3 separate regions of the Homo sapiens genome follow, and regions 1 and 3 are each linked to region 2. Evidence: promoter capture Hi-C in 16 types of primary human blood cells and fetal thymus (Javierre and others, 2016). All regions are on one chromosome and are shown on one strand. Each heading gives the region's core, a stretch centred on a gene start or on the middle of the fragment in contact. The rest is flanking DNA. Distances are from core to core; before and after follow the strand shown. Region 1 overlaps RPRD1B (regulation of nuclear pre-mRNA domain containing 1B). Region 2 holds the start of VSTM2L (V-set and transmembrane domain containing 2 like). Region 3 overlaps RPRD1B (regulation of nuclear pre-mRNA domain containing 1B).

What was found. Contacts are between HindIII fragments. The CHiCAGO score rates a contact against its expected background, and 5 or more counts as called.
Region 1: a contact is called between a fragment that was not itself captured here and the fragment with the promoter of VSTM2L in region 2, in 1 of 17 cell types (endothelial precursors). The highest score is 5.4, in endothelial precursors.
Region 3: a contact is called between a fragment that was not itself captured here and the fragment with the promoter of VSTM2L in region 2, in 1 of 17 cell types (endothelial precursors). The highest score is 5.4, in endothelial precursors.

What each region holds. Positions count from the first base shown.
Region 1 is chr20:38,037,546-38,041,505 of GRCh38, reverse strand. RPRD1B (regulation of nuclear pre-mRNA domain containing 1B) reads right to left here. Exons shown (of 7, transcript NM_021215.4): 2 at 942-1,071. LOC124904898 (a long non-coding RNA gene) reads right to left here. Exons shown (of 2, transcript XR_007067579.1): 2 at 3,399-3,960. Among named protein-coding and RNA genes, the nearest start is that of RPRD1B, 5.8 kb to the right of the region's middle. The HindIII fragment of the contact is 2,555 bases long and covers 1,057-3,611 here.
Region 2 is chr20:37,900,801-37,904,838 of GRCh38, reverse strand. VSTM2L (V-set and transmembrane domain containing 2 like) reads right to left here and starts at 1,712. Exons shown (of 4, transcript NM_080607.3): 1 at 1,368-1,712. The coding sequence starts at 1,488. The region is part of intron 2 of LOC124904896 (a long non-coding RNA gene); the gene reads left to right. RefSeq lists an enhancer at 1,449-2,412. The HindIII fragment of the contact is 14,867 bases long and covers 1-4,038 here.
Region 3 is chr20:38,070,742-38,074,856 of GRCh38, reverse strand. All of the region lies in intron 6 of RPRD1B (regulation of nuclear pre-mRNA domain containing 1B), which reads right to left. Among named protein-coding and RNA genes, the nearest start is that of RPRD1B, 39 kb to the right of the region's middle. RefSeq lists an enhancer at 1,383-1,492. The HindIII fragment of the contact is 3,124 bases long and covers 1,245-4,115 here.

The DNA of each region.
Region 1 (3,960 bases), core at 1,085-3,584, 140 kb before region 2:
TAACTTATCCACAAAAACCATCTTTTTCATCTCTAGAAAGCTAGGTGTCATTTCTTTCTCTTGGATTTCTAATTTTATTCCTTCAAACTTTTCAAATCCTGCAATGAAAGCAGGACTTCATTTCTCATTTAAGGCCTTTCACTATATTTTAGACCTAGTAACAATTTATGTTTAACCTACTAGTCTCCCATTCATGTTTCCCAATTCCTTTTGCAAATATCTGTTTATATATTTACTTATAAACATAATATTCTAATGAACGATAGTTTTTCTTTGCTTTTCCTGGGCACCTAATTTAAGCCCACAGAAAGCTTTTGTTTTTACATGAAGTAAAGTAATTTATAAAACTTTTAATCCAATGTATGCTTTCTATGGTATTAGTTGTATGAGTGCCACTCCTCTCTGCCACAAAACACAACAGCACCAGGCTTAATACAATATAGCCAGAGCAAACACCTACTTTCTACACTAATAATTACTATTATTGCAGTTACAGTAATGCCTACTATTTTTAGTAAACTAGACATCTAGAAATCCAGAAGGAAATAAAAAGGAAGGCATTTGGCAATTAATTTCTTGCTATTAAGTTATGTTACTAAAAGGTTCCCTTACTAGTTAGCTTTGTTTTTTGATCATAAGCTGATGAGACAACTCAACCAAACCAAGGAAAATACCATAACCAAGAAATAAATTCAAAAAATGAAAATGAATATATCTAGAAGAAAGATAATGCTAGGCTGAATCTCTCAAATGTATCAGAATGTTTACATGTCTCGATAGTTCTTGAGGGCTCAACAAAACATAAAACCACAATTCGGCCTCCACAACTCTCTGTAAAGTAGGAAGTTGTCAATTTACAAAGGCTATCACAGAAAAGGAAAGAACAAAAAGGTGGGAAAGGCAATGAATTTAAAAACAAATCCAAAAAACAGACAACATACCTGGCAACATGAGAAAAAGCATCCACAAGGACAGATTCAAATTCTCTAGTGAATTCAGGTCCTTTCCTTTTACTGTTTTGGATGACATCATTCGCTAAATACAGAAAAGTAAGCTTTCTATTTGATTTGGCTGAAAAAAAGAAAAGAAAAGAATTTAACTTACACCAAAGAAATTCTCAATTCACAATTCTTTTGCCCTGGGCTGCTCCTAAAAAAACATTAAGACAAGTATTATCTACCTGGGGGGTCAAGTAGATATGTTTAAAAAGACCACCTAAGGAATAGGTTTGGGAATACCATTTCGGAAAAAAAAAAAAGAAAAAGAAAAAGAATGGGCCATCTTCATTGCTGTGTTGTTTAAACCAGGGTAATTAATTGATAGTAAAAATTAAGATAATCCAAAGAGAATTCCTAAAGGATAAGCAGTCAGTGTTAATGTTGAAACTAGGGCTTTTATTTATTCTACTGCAAAAATGAGCAACTTCTAACTCACTTTTAATTATCAAATATTTCAGAATGAAAGACTGAGTTGGCCGGACGCAGTGGCTCATGCCTGTAATCTCAGCACTCTGGGAGGACGAGGTGGGTGGATCATTTGAGGTCAGGAGTTTGAGACCAGCCTGGCCAACATGGTGAAACCCTACCTCTACTAAAGATACAAAAATTAGCCGGGTGTGATGGTGGGCACCTGTAGTCCCAGCTACTCAGGAGGCTGAGGCAGGAGAATCGCTTGAACCCAGGAGGTGGAGGTTGCAGTGAGCCGAGATTGCACTACTGTACTCCAGCTTGGGCAATAGAGCAAGACTCTGTCTCAAAAAAAAAAAAAAAAGACTGAGTTAGGTTTCAATTTTAAAATGGTTTCGCCGAGCGTGGTGGCTCATGCCTGTCATCCCAGCACTTTTGGAGGCCGAGATGGACGGATCACCTGAGGTCGGGAGTTTGAGACCAGCCTGACCAACGTGGAGAAACCCCGTCTCTACTAAAAATACAAAATTTGCCTGGCGTGGTGGCACATGCCTGTAATCCCAGTTACTCAGGAGGCTGAGGTGGGAGAATCGCTTGAATCCGGGAGGTAGAGGTTGTGGTGAGCCTAGATCATGCTGTTGCACTCCAGCCTGGGCAACAAGAGCAAAACTCCGTCTCAAAAAAAAAAAAAAGGTTTCTTGTAATTTTGCTCCTAAACTGAGAATTTCTCTGATACTCCAATAACCATAATCAATAATATAGAAGAATCTCTAGGTGCACCAATAGATATTAGCTCAAATACAAGTATACATTAACACTACACTCTTATTGAAAATTTACACACGTGTGAAATCTAGATATGCAAAATTAGGGCTTTCACAAAAACCATAATTCTCTCTTATTTATATGAAATGTGGTTATTCCCTATTACTCTATATGGTATCATATATTAAACCATAAAAACCTCGTGCAATATGTCTGAGTTACAGTTGCTTTGGGGAACATTACTGAATTCCCTGGCTTCTATGCACATAATTTCTCAACTATAAAGTTACATCCCTACAATTTTTGGTTCCAATTTTCTTTTAAAAGAAATAAATAAGAACATAATTAGATGTTTCAAAACACAAAGTTTTCTCCAATGCTAAAGTACCTGAAAAACACAAGCTCTTTATCAACCTTAACACACCTGAGTAACTCTATTTCTCTCTGAAACCAGTTGTTTCTTTTGAAATGTACAAAGCATTGATATGTCTGACATAGCAGGCATAAGATCTGACATTTTAAAATGTAGCTACAGGAGGCTGGGCACAGTGGCTCACGCCTGTAATCCCAGCACTCCGGGAGGCCAAGGCAGGTGGATCACCTGAGGTCACGAGATCAAGGCCATCCTGGCTAACATGGTGAAACCTTGTCTCTACTAAAAATACAAAAAATTAGCCAGGCGTGGTGGCGGGCGCCTGTAGTCCCAGCTACTCAGGAGGCTGAGGCAGGACAATGGGGTGAGCCCAGGAGGCGGAGCTTGCAGTGAGCCGAGATCACACCACTGCACTCCAGTCTGGGTGACAGAGCAAGACTCTGTCTCAAAAAAAAAAAAAAAAAAAAAAAACAAAACAAAAAAAATCAGCCGGGCGTGGTGCCAGGCGCCTGTAAACCCAGCTACTTGGGAGGCTGAGGCAGGCGAATCACTTGAACCTGGGAGGCGGAGGTTGCAGTGAGCCGAGATCGCGCCAACTGCACTCCCACCTGGGTGACAGAGTAAGAGACTCCGTCTCAAAAAAAAAAAAAAAAATGTAGCTACAGGAGAGTAACCCAAGTTAAAAACATGATTTTAATAGCACATTACAGTTTAAACTGATGAAACTGATGTCTTAAATGCTCATAAAATTAAATATGGATACCCTGAATTGTCTTAACCTTCTGGTAATAACCTAGTTTAGATGGCCAACTGATAAGAATACTAGGAACCTGGAGCTTTCTTCAACTTTCTAATTATTATTCAAAAGCAGAACAAAAGTGTCAGTAGTTACAATATCTACTGTTGCTACAAAGGTATGATTATGGCAAAACGTGCTTTTTTGTTAAAGCAAACCTTGCTCTGCAAAGTTGATGTAAGTGAAACTACTACACCTATAATCCCATGCAAGTTAGCAGATTCGAAAGCAAAACAGAACTTCAACAAAGCAAATTTCATTAAGTGAAGCTTTAAAATTCCATACACTTTATGTTGAAAAAAAAAAAACCTAGAATCCATATTGTAAAATGTCAGTGTGGACATTCAAGACCTGATATATACTTCTCAGTAGACAAACAAGGTATCTAAGGGGCTTGAGACCCAAGGTTTTCACTGTTTACAATGCCAATTAATTTTCATCACCCCAGAACTTAACAATGGGGATTTATTTAGGATAAACTGTATCCCTCCATATTCAACATCCTCAACAGTCAACATAAGCACCATGTGTGTCAAGGTGATATGACAAAACCCTAGAGCTCTTGAGCACACACAGTCACAATACACACAACATGCACACCCCTCCATCCCAATCCTGGG
Region 2 (4,038 bases), core at 463-2,962:
AAAGCAGAGACCCTGAGGATGGCTTCGAAGCCCCCCTCTCCACTGGAGCAATCCCACTCATGTGTCATACCCCAGCAAAACCTTCCCTGATTATCTACCCTGCCTTACCCCCACTCACTCCCATCAGAATAAATCATCCAATTATCTGGCCTTTGTGCAAACCTCCCCACAGCCCTGGGCCCACAGTGCCCAGCACTGGGGCTGCAGCCTCCCCAACAAGGCTGTCAGCCTGTCTAGTGAAGGGCTGCATGGAAGAAAGGTCTCCTTTGGTTTCATCTATGCTCGAGCCTCCATCCCAGAGCCAGGCTCACAGGGGTCAGGGGGAGCCCCCACAGCTGCCGGGCTCATACAGTCCAACTCTGCTGCCAACTTGGGCTCCTTCGGGGCTAGCAGGAGCTTCTGACACTCAGCCAGCCAGTGCTGGGAATGCTTGTCTGCTCCCCGGCTTCCACAGCGGCTGGAGTTGAGATTTCCCACATTTCAGTCCTCTAGGGCCGAGGATGAGGATGGGGGTACCCTATGGAAGGATGGCACGGCTTCCTGCCCATCCCCAGAGGCAGACAAAAGCACCCGGCATTCCACTTCCACTCCCACTCCCATGCCTCTGGCTGCAAGCAGCAACCCCAACTACTCCGGTGGCTCTGAGGGGCTTCCACCAGGTGCCACCCGCCCAACTGGGAGGCTGCAGCCCCAGGCGACCAGTTCTCAAGAAACAAGGTCTTCTGCCCCCAAGGACCTTTCCAGTGGTATAGGGCTGGGTGTGGAGAGGAAGAGGACAAGGGCCTCTGTGCGGTTAAACCCAGAAGAGTAAAGGCAGATGGGCAGAGAGGAGTGGGTGAGCAAATTGTGTTCATGTGTGTGTATGTGTGTGCCTGTGTGTGTGTGCGCGCGCGCGCACCAGTGTGTCTGCAGGTGGGCAGGCAAGAGTTGTGGCGAAGCGTGTGCGCCAGCTGGCAGAGTGAGCCCACCGGCGCAGTGCCTGATGTGCGTGTGTAGTGGGCATAAGTGTAAAGGCTTGCAGTGAGGAGGGGGACCTGAGGTGTGTGGAGATGTGCAGGGTAGGAGTTGTGAGTGTGAGAAAGCAGCGACTGTGGCTCTGAGTGTGTCCGCGGCTGTGCATATCGGTGTGGCCATGCAGGTGTGCGTATCCGCGCGAGTGTGTGGGGAGGAGGTTCGGGGGTGCGCCCCGGGTGCCCCCTTCTCTGCAGGGCCAGGGTGCCAGGGCGGGTCCACCGCGCCGGCAGGGGGCGCCCCGGGATGCCCGCCACGACTGGCGCCGGTTCGAGCCCCGGGGCGGCCAAGTTGGAGTGGCGCGGCCCGGGTTGGGGTTTGGTGGGGAAGTCCGCGGGGGCGGCGACCGAACTCACCGTGGCCGGAGACGTGGTTGTCCCAGGGCGCGTGGCCGGCGGGCCGCGTGGCGCCGCCGAGTTGCAGGAAAAGTGCCAGGTAGTGGAGGGCGCCCAGCGCTACGGCGAGCGGGGCCCCCATCGTGCGCTCTCGGGCCGGGGGCGCCGCCGCCTCACATCTGGGCCCCGGAGACCGCAGAACCGGCGCCAGCTGTCCCCTGCCCTGAGCGGCCTGGCTGCCCGGCTCCGGCAGCTGCCCCTCGCCCGCTGTCCCCGGACCCGGCCCAGCTCCCAGCCCTCGCCCGGCTCCGGCCCAGCCCCGGCTTCGGGGAGCGAGCGCACGCCCAGCCGGCCGCCTCCGACTGCGGGACTCTTCCCTTCCGCGGAAGGCCACGCCGCGCCGCCGCCGCACCCTCCTCCCTCCTCCCGCCTCCCTCCTCCCCTCCCTCCTCCCCTCCCTCCTCCCGCTCGGAGCAGGCGGCGGAGGGATCTGCCGCTTGATTTATCATCAAAGTTTTGCCCAGGCTGGGATTTTTAAAGCGGTACCCGCAACTTTCCCCCGCCCGAGTGCGGAGGCGGGGCCGGGATGGGGCGGAGAGAGCCACCCCAGGGACGCGGTTCCCGCAAAGCACGACCCAACGGGCTTCAGCCACAGAAATGCCGTCCAGCGGGGAGAGGGAGAAAAGCCAGGGCACCCGCCGCCAGGCCAGCGCACTCAGAGGCTCCTAACTTTACCGGCAGGGCGGGGCCGGGGTCAGGGGCCAGTGGGGCTGGGGGTGAGGGCGAGGTAGGGTGGGAGCCTGGGCTGAGACCCAGGGGACCTGGTGATAGCTCTGCCGCCGACCTCGGCTCGCTGTGTGATCGCGTCCGGGTGTCTACCCCTCTCTGAACCTCGAAGTCTTCATCTGAGAAATAGGGGTAATAGCTGTCTGCGGGGGTCCTGGTGAGGATTTGCGAAATCGTGCATGCAAAGCGCTTAGCATAATGCTGCCTACGTGGTAGGAGCTCAGTAGTTATTATTGTCGGTGTTCCCCTTTCTGGGACTCAGTTTTCGAGTCTTTGTAATGGGAGAGAGACAGGCCAGTTAGTTGTTGCGGCTCCTGGCTCTTGAAGATACTGGACCTTATGTGGTGGATGGGATCGCCCCCTTCTGGACTGTAGGCTCCTTCCCTAGACCAATGAGCCTTGATGGTGTGTGTGTGCATGAGTGTGTGTGTGCGTGTGCGTGTGCGCGCGCGTATGCGTGGGTGTATGTGTGTGTGAGTGTGGCAGGGGAGGGGGATAGGGCACCATTCCCATTCCCAAGAGCAAGAATCCAACAAAGTCCTCCAGTTCCTTCCCAAGCCGTGTTACTGGGGCTGATGGGACAGACAGGAGGGCGGAACTGTGGTCCCATTTAAAAGATAAGGAAGCGCCTGAAATCAGGTAATTAGCTTCTCTGAGGTCCCACGGCGAGTCGGGCGAGGCCCCTGACTCCTGGGCGGGGTCCCTCCTGCTCTCATCCCTTGCCCTTCCCCAGGCCTCCCTGCTCACACAGCCTGGTCCTCCCGGTTTCAGCACCACGGAGGAGGACAGCGCCAGCCCCCCCCCCGCCCCCCGCCCCCCGCCCCACCCGGGCCCATCCTTTGGGCACCGTGGACAGCGTCTCAACTGGCCCTTTGATGCTAGGGTTCACACCGTGGACAGACCCTCAGACTTTCTTCCCCGTCCCCGTCGAACAGGGTCAACCCCTCCGACAGCCCACTCCCCACTCCAGAACACAGGTGGATCCCGCGTCCAGCCGTGTGTACAGCGCCCAAGTTTGAGAACAAGGTTAGAGACCAAGGAACATAGCCCCTCGCCGTCTTCCCTCTGTCTTAGCGCCCCCCTTCCAGTATTATGGGGGGGGGGTAGCACACCGGATGGGGCCCGTGGTAGCCAGCAACAATCCAGCTCCTTCCAAACTAAGGACACCTCCTCCACGATGTCCCGCACTTACAAGCACTGTGTTCTAGCACCGTCCACAGCCCCCGCGCTCCCTTCAGTACCGAGGACAGGTCCCAAGCGTCGACCGCTTCCCCCACCCCCCGAACCTTCTGGACCACATGCCTTGGAGGAAGGGGCCGTGTTTGCCTGATTCTCTCACTTCTCACTTTCTTCCCACACAGAGGTGGTGTTTAGGTTATCCTGGGCTGGCCAGGCGTCTTGGACTCTATGCACGTGTTTTCTCATTCATTAACTACCCTGAACCCCGCTCCCAGCGAAATGAACTACTGCTTCCATCATAAAGATATGGAAACTGAGAATCCTCCAGATCACATAGCAGCCACCATGTTAGCCAGACTAAAACCCAGGACTCCTTCAACCCCAGCCTGAGGCCTCACCAGGAGACTGTGGTGACAGAACTGGGACTCAAACCCGGGCTTTCTCCTCTTAAACCACAGATTGGAGGGAGCAGACACAGGCAAGGGGACAGGGAGGGAGAGGAGATTAAAGAGGAGTAAACAAGAGATTGCTCAGGCCTGCAGAGGAAGGGGGTCTGGCGGGATGGCAGCACATTGCTGCTGTGCCCCTAGCCCACCGGCTGACCTTCAGAAATCTTTTCTCTTTGAAGCCTGGAACAAGGTCAAGGTTCCTTCAAGGACAGACATCCAGGGATTGTATGCCTTTGAAAATGCTCGTGATCGGCCAGGTGTGGTGGCTCACGCCTGTA
Region 3 (4,115 bases), core at 1,557-4,056, 170 kb before region 2:
AAATAGTTATCTCTGGGTAATGAGACTAATTTTATTCTTTATACTTATTTGCTAAGTTTCCTCTGATGTATTACTTTTACAATCAAAAAAAGAAAACAAAAACAAAAACAAAAACCCTGAGTACTAGTTGAACCAGAGTGAATGTTCTGGCAGGCAGGAGTAATAAGAGGCCCAGGTGCTGTTTTAACTTCATATTATATGCATTCCATAAATATGAAAAATTAGTGCTACATATACCAGCTGAAACTCAGTGGCACTGTTCCATCAAGCAGGGGTTACACTGCCCACAGAAGTTGGGCTACAAATATGAAAACGGTACTATGGCTAAAGGCATGAATTCTTGCTGGGAAAGCCTTAAAACCGTGTCACTTTTTCAATGTAAAGTCTCAAAGTCTCAAATGTTGGCAAATCATGTTCTTAAGTCACTAAGTATGTGAAGTACATTATAATGTGGCATTATTTTCCTGGAGTGAAAAATAAGTATCATAGGTTTCACATTGTAATAAAGAAACACACACACACCCAACAGATAAAAGCTCCAGCTATAAACTGGGCCTAAGCAGTAGGGTCAGTAGACTAAAATGAATAAAAGAAATCCAAGGAACTCCAAATCACTCACAGAAGCCCACACATTAACTCAATAAAAGTCCTCACATATTGGAGGGAAACTGGCGGAAAAAAAGAAAATAAAAGAAAAGTAAAAAGAAAGAAAACTCCCACATCAAAGTAGGGGATGGAAAGGCAAGGGAGAGCAGTAAGCACACTACGGCCTGCTTCGTGGGAAGGTACTGAGTGCAAGGCCCCGTAATTACTTGGCAACAGAATGACCTGTTTTAACAACTATTCTAACAACCTGGGTGCTGACAGAGCTGCCAGCCTAGGGAGGACAGACTTGAATACTACAGAAGGGCAGTGAGTTTAGAGGACTGAGAGGAGGGGGCCGGCACTAGGCAGGGCCTCTCAGCTCCCAGGAGAACACAGTGGATGATCACTGTAGTTAGGAGTCAGAAGATCCAGGTACTGGTCCTCACTGGCTTCCTCTGTGACCCTGAAGTGTTCACATAAACCCAAGGGCTCTTACCTAAAATGACAATTAGATCACCGGCTCCCATCTGTCCTTACCATGATAGGACACTGAGATACTGGCTTTGATCATCATAGGAAAGACGAATTTACTCCAAAGTTGACAAAAAAGGAGCTCTCTATCTCCCCCTACTGCCTGGCCTAATATTGAAACAAAAGCTTCTAACCATCTGCACCCTGCAGGGAGGTGCTGCCAAAAACAACAATCTGCCATCATTTTGGTTGAGCACCCCTTCAACTGTAGCCAAAGAATTTCTCAAGTTGTTATAACCACAATCAAACAGAAATATGAAGAGTCATAAGGCAATGTTGGATTCTGAACCATTTCCCCCTTCCCAGCTGTGTTGTCTGAAGTCAGAGGCTCTACTCCTGAGTAGTCATTACAGCCAAGGGGGAGGTGCCAAGCGAGGAGAAACACCAGCAGCTTTAAGTTCATGAGCCAATTTCTCCCCTCCTATCAGAGCAAGAGCGTGAGCAGGGGTACAGCGAGGCAGGTACTTAGAACCTTGGTGGCAGAGTAGGTTCTTTCACACTTAGAATGCTTTCATGCAATCATTTTATGACCCCACATAAAATGTCATTTCTCTACAACAAGATTCTTGGGAACTGTTTAAATGATTAAACTTTGGCTACTATTCTGTGTAAGATGTCTTCCTGCTGTTGATGTTGCAGAATCAAAATTCTGAAATCAAAACAAAAGTACAAATCTGATGAAGTTACCAGATGTCTGCCTTGGACTCTATGCTGGTCTGCAGCTACCTCTCTCTCTAGGTTTCTTCACCAATTCAGAAGTCTGATTATATGATCTCTAAGGTTCTGTCCAGCTCAATAATCCTGCTAATCACTTTACTTAGATATCCAGGCCTCTATGTGTCACTTTACTTTGTAAAGCTGCTGTTGTGACTGTGCCCTGGTGACTCCATTGAGTCCATACACAAAATACTCATATCTTCTAGAGGTGGGGGTTAACATTATTGAAAGGTGATACCACTGCCCTCCATCTGTGGTCCCAAAACCTAGACAGGGCCTTTATAATATCAAATGCATCAGTAAATGACACTCTCCTAGAGTGCTTTTTAAAATTCTGCAGCAGAAATTGAAGACTTAAATAAATGTGAAGACATCCCCTGTTCATGAGCTGAAACACTTAAGACTGCTAAAATCGCAATACTCCCCAAAGTGACCCGCAGACTCAATGCATTCCCTAGTAAAACTTCAATTACCTTTTTTGCAGAAATGGAAAAGGTGATTGTTAAATTCATAGGGAATTGCAAGCGATCCTAAATAGCCAAAACAATACTGAAAAAGAACTCTGAGGACTCATACTTACTGATTTTAAAACTTACTACAAAACTACAGTGATGGAGATAGTGTGGTATGAGCATAGGATAGACATATACATTAATGGAATAGAATTGAGAATCCAGAAATAAACCAATACATCTGTGGCCAATTGATTTTTGACAAGGGTGCTGGGCATTCAGGTGGAGGAAAAGAGTAGTCTCTTCAACAAATGGTGCTGGGACAAATGGATATCTACAGGCAAAAGAATGAAGTTGGTCCCCCCCTACATCACACCACATACAAAAACTAACTCAAAACAGATTAAGAACGTAAATTTAAGACATAAAATTATAAAACTTCTAGAAGAAAACACAGAAAAAAATTGTCATGACCTGGGATTGGCAACAGATTATTACATGTGACACCAAAAGCATGAGCAACAACCACAAAAATAGATAAATTGGAACTCATAAAAATAAAAAACTTTTGCACATCAAAGGATATTACCTAGAAAGTGAAAAGACAACTTATAGGAGAAAATAGTTGCAAATCATTTATGTGATAAAGGTATATTATCCACAATATATAAAGAACTTTTACAACTCAAAAAAAGCAAATAACCCAATTTGAAAATGGGCAAAGGAATTGAACACACATTTCTCCAAAGATAAACAGCCGACAAGCATACTGAAAGATGATCAGTATCGTTAGTAATTAGCAAAATGCAAATCAAAATCACAATGAGATAAACCTGCACATGTAGGTTGTCGAAAATAAAGAGACAATAACAAATGTTGATGAGGATGTGGAGAAACTGGAACCCACGCACATTGCTAGTGGGGATGTAAAATGATGTAGCTGCTGTGGAAAACAGTCTGATGGTTCCTCAAAATGTTACATAGAATTACCATATGACCCAGCAATTCCACTCCTAGATTTATACATAACCAAGAGAAATGAAAAGATATGGCCACACAAAAACCTCCACATGACTGTTTATAGCAACACTATTCATAAGAGCCAAAAGGTGGCAACAACTCAAATGTCCATAGACAGGTTATAAACTGTGTCACATCCATACAACAGATTAGTGTTCTACCATAAAAGAGATGAAGTACTGATATATGCTACAACATGGGATGAATCTTGAAAACATCGTGCCGAAAGAAGCCAGACACAATTATGTTTTGGAACTTGATACAATACTGTGAACGTACTAAATGCCACCAAAATGTGTGCACTTTGAAGTGCATGGTTAATTTACGTTATATGAATTTCACCTCAACTAAAACAATAAATCTGCAGCTTGGAACAAATTTCTCAAGAGCTCTTCCCTGTGTGGCATATCATCTTTGTGTGTGTGCACCATGTGGCATGTGGGTCAACACAGGACTATCTGCTTTCAGTTCTAGATCGCTGACAGTCAGACACCATGATCTGAATAAAATTCACAGTTAAGGCCAGGCATGGAGGCGCATGCCTGTAATTCCAACACTTTGGGAGGCCAAGGCAGGTGGATCACCTGAGATCAGGAGTTCGAGACCAGCCTGCCCAACATGGCAAAACCCCATCTCTACTAAAAATACAAAAATTAGCTGGGTGTGGTGGCATGCGCCTGTAGTCCCAGCTACTCGGGAGGCTGAGGCACGAGAATCGCTTGAACCCGGGAGGCAGTGAGCTCAGATTGCTCTACTGCACTCTAGCCCTGGGCAACAGAGCAAGAGTCTGTCTCAAAAAAAAAAAAAAAA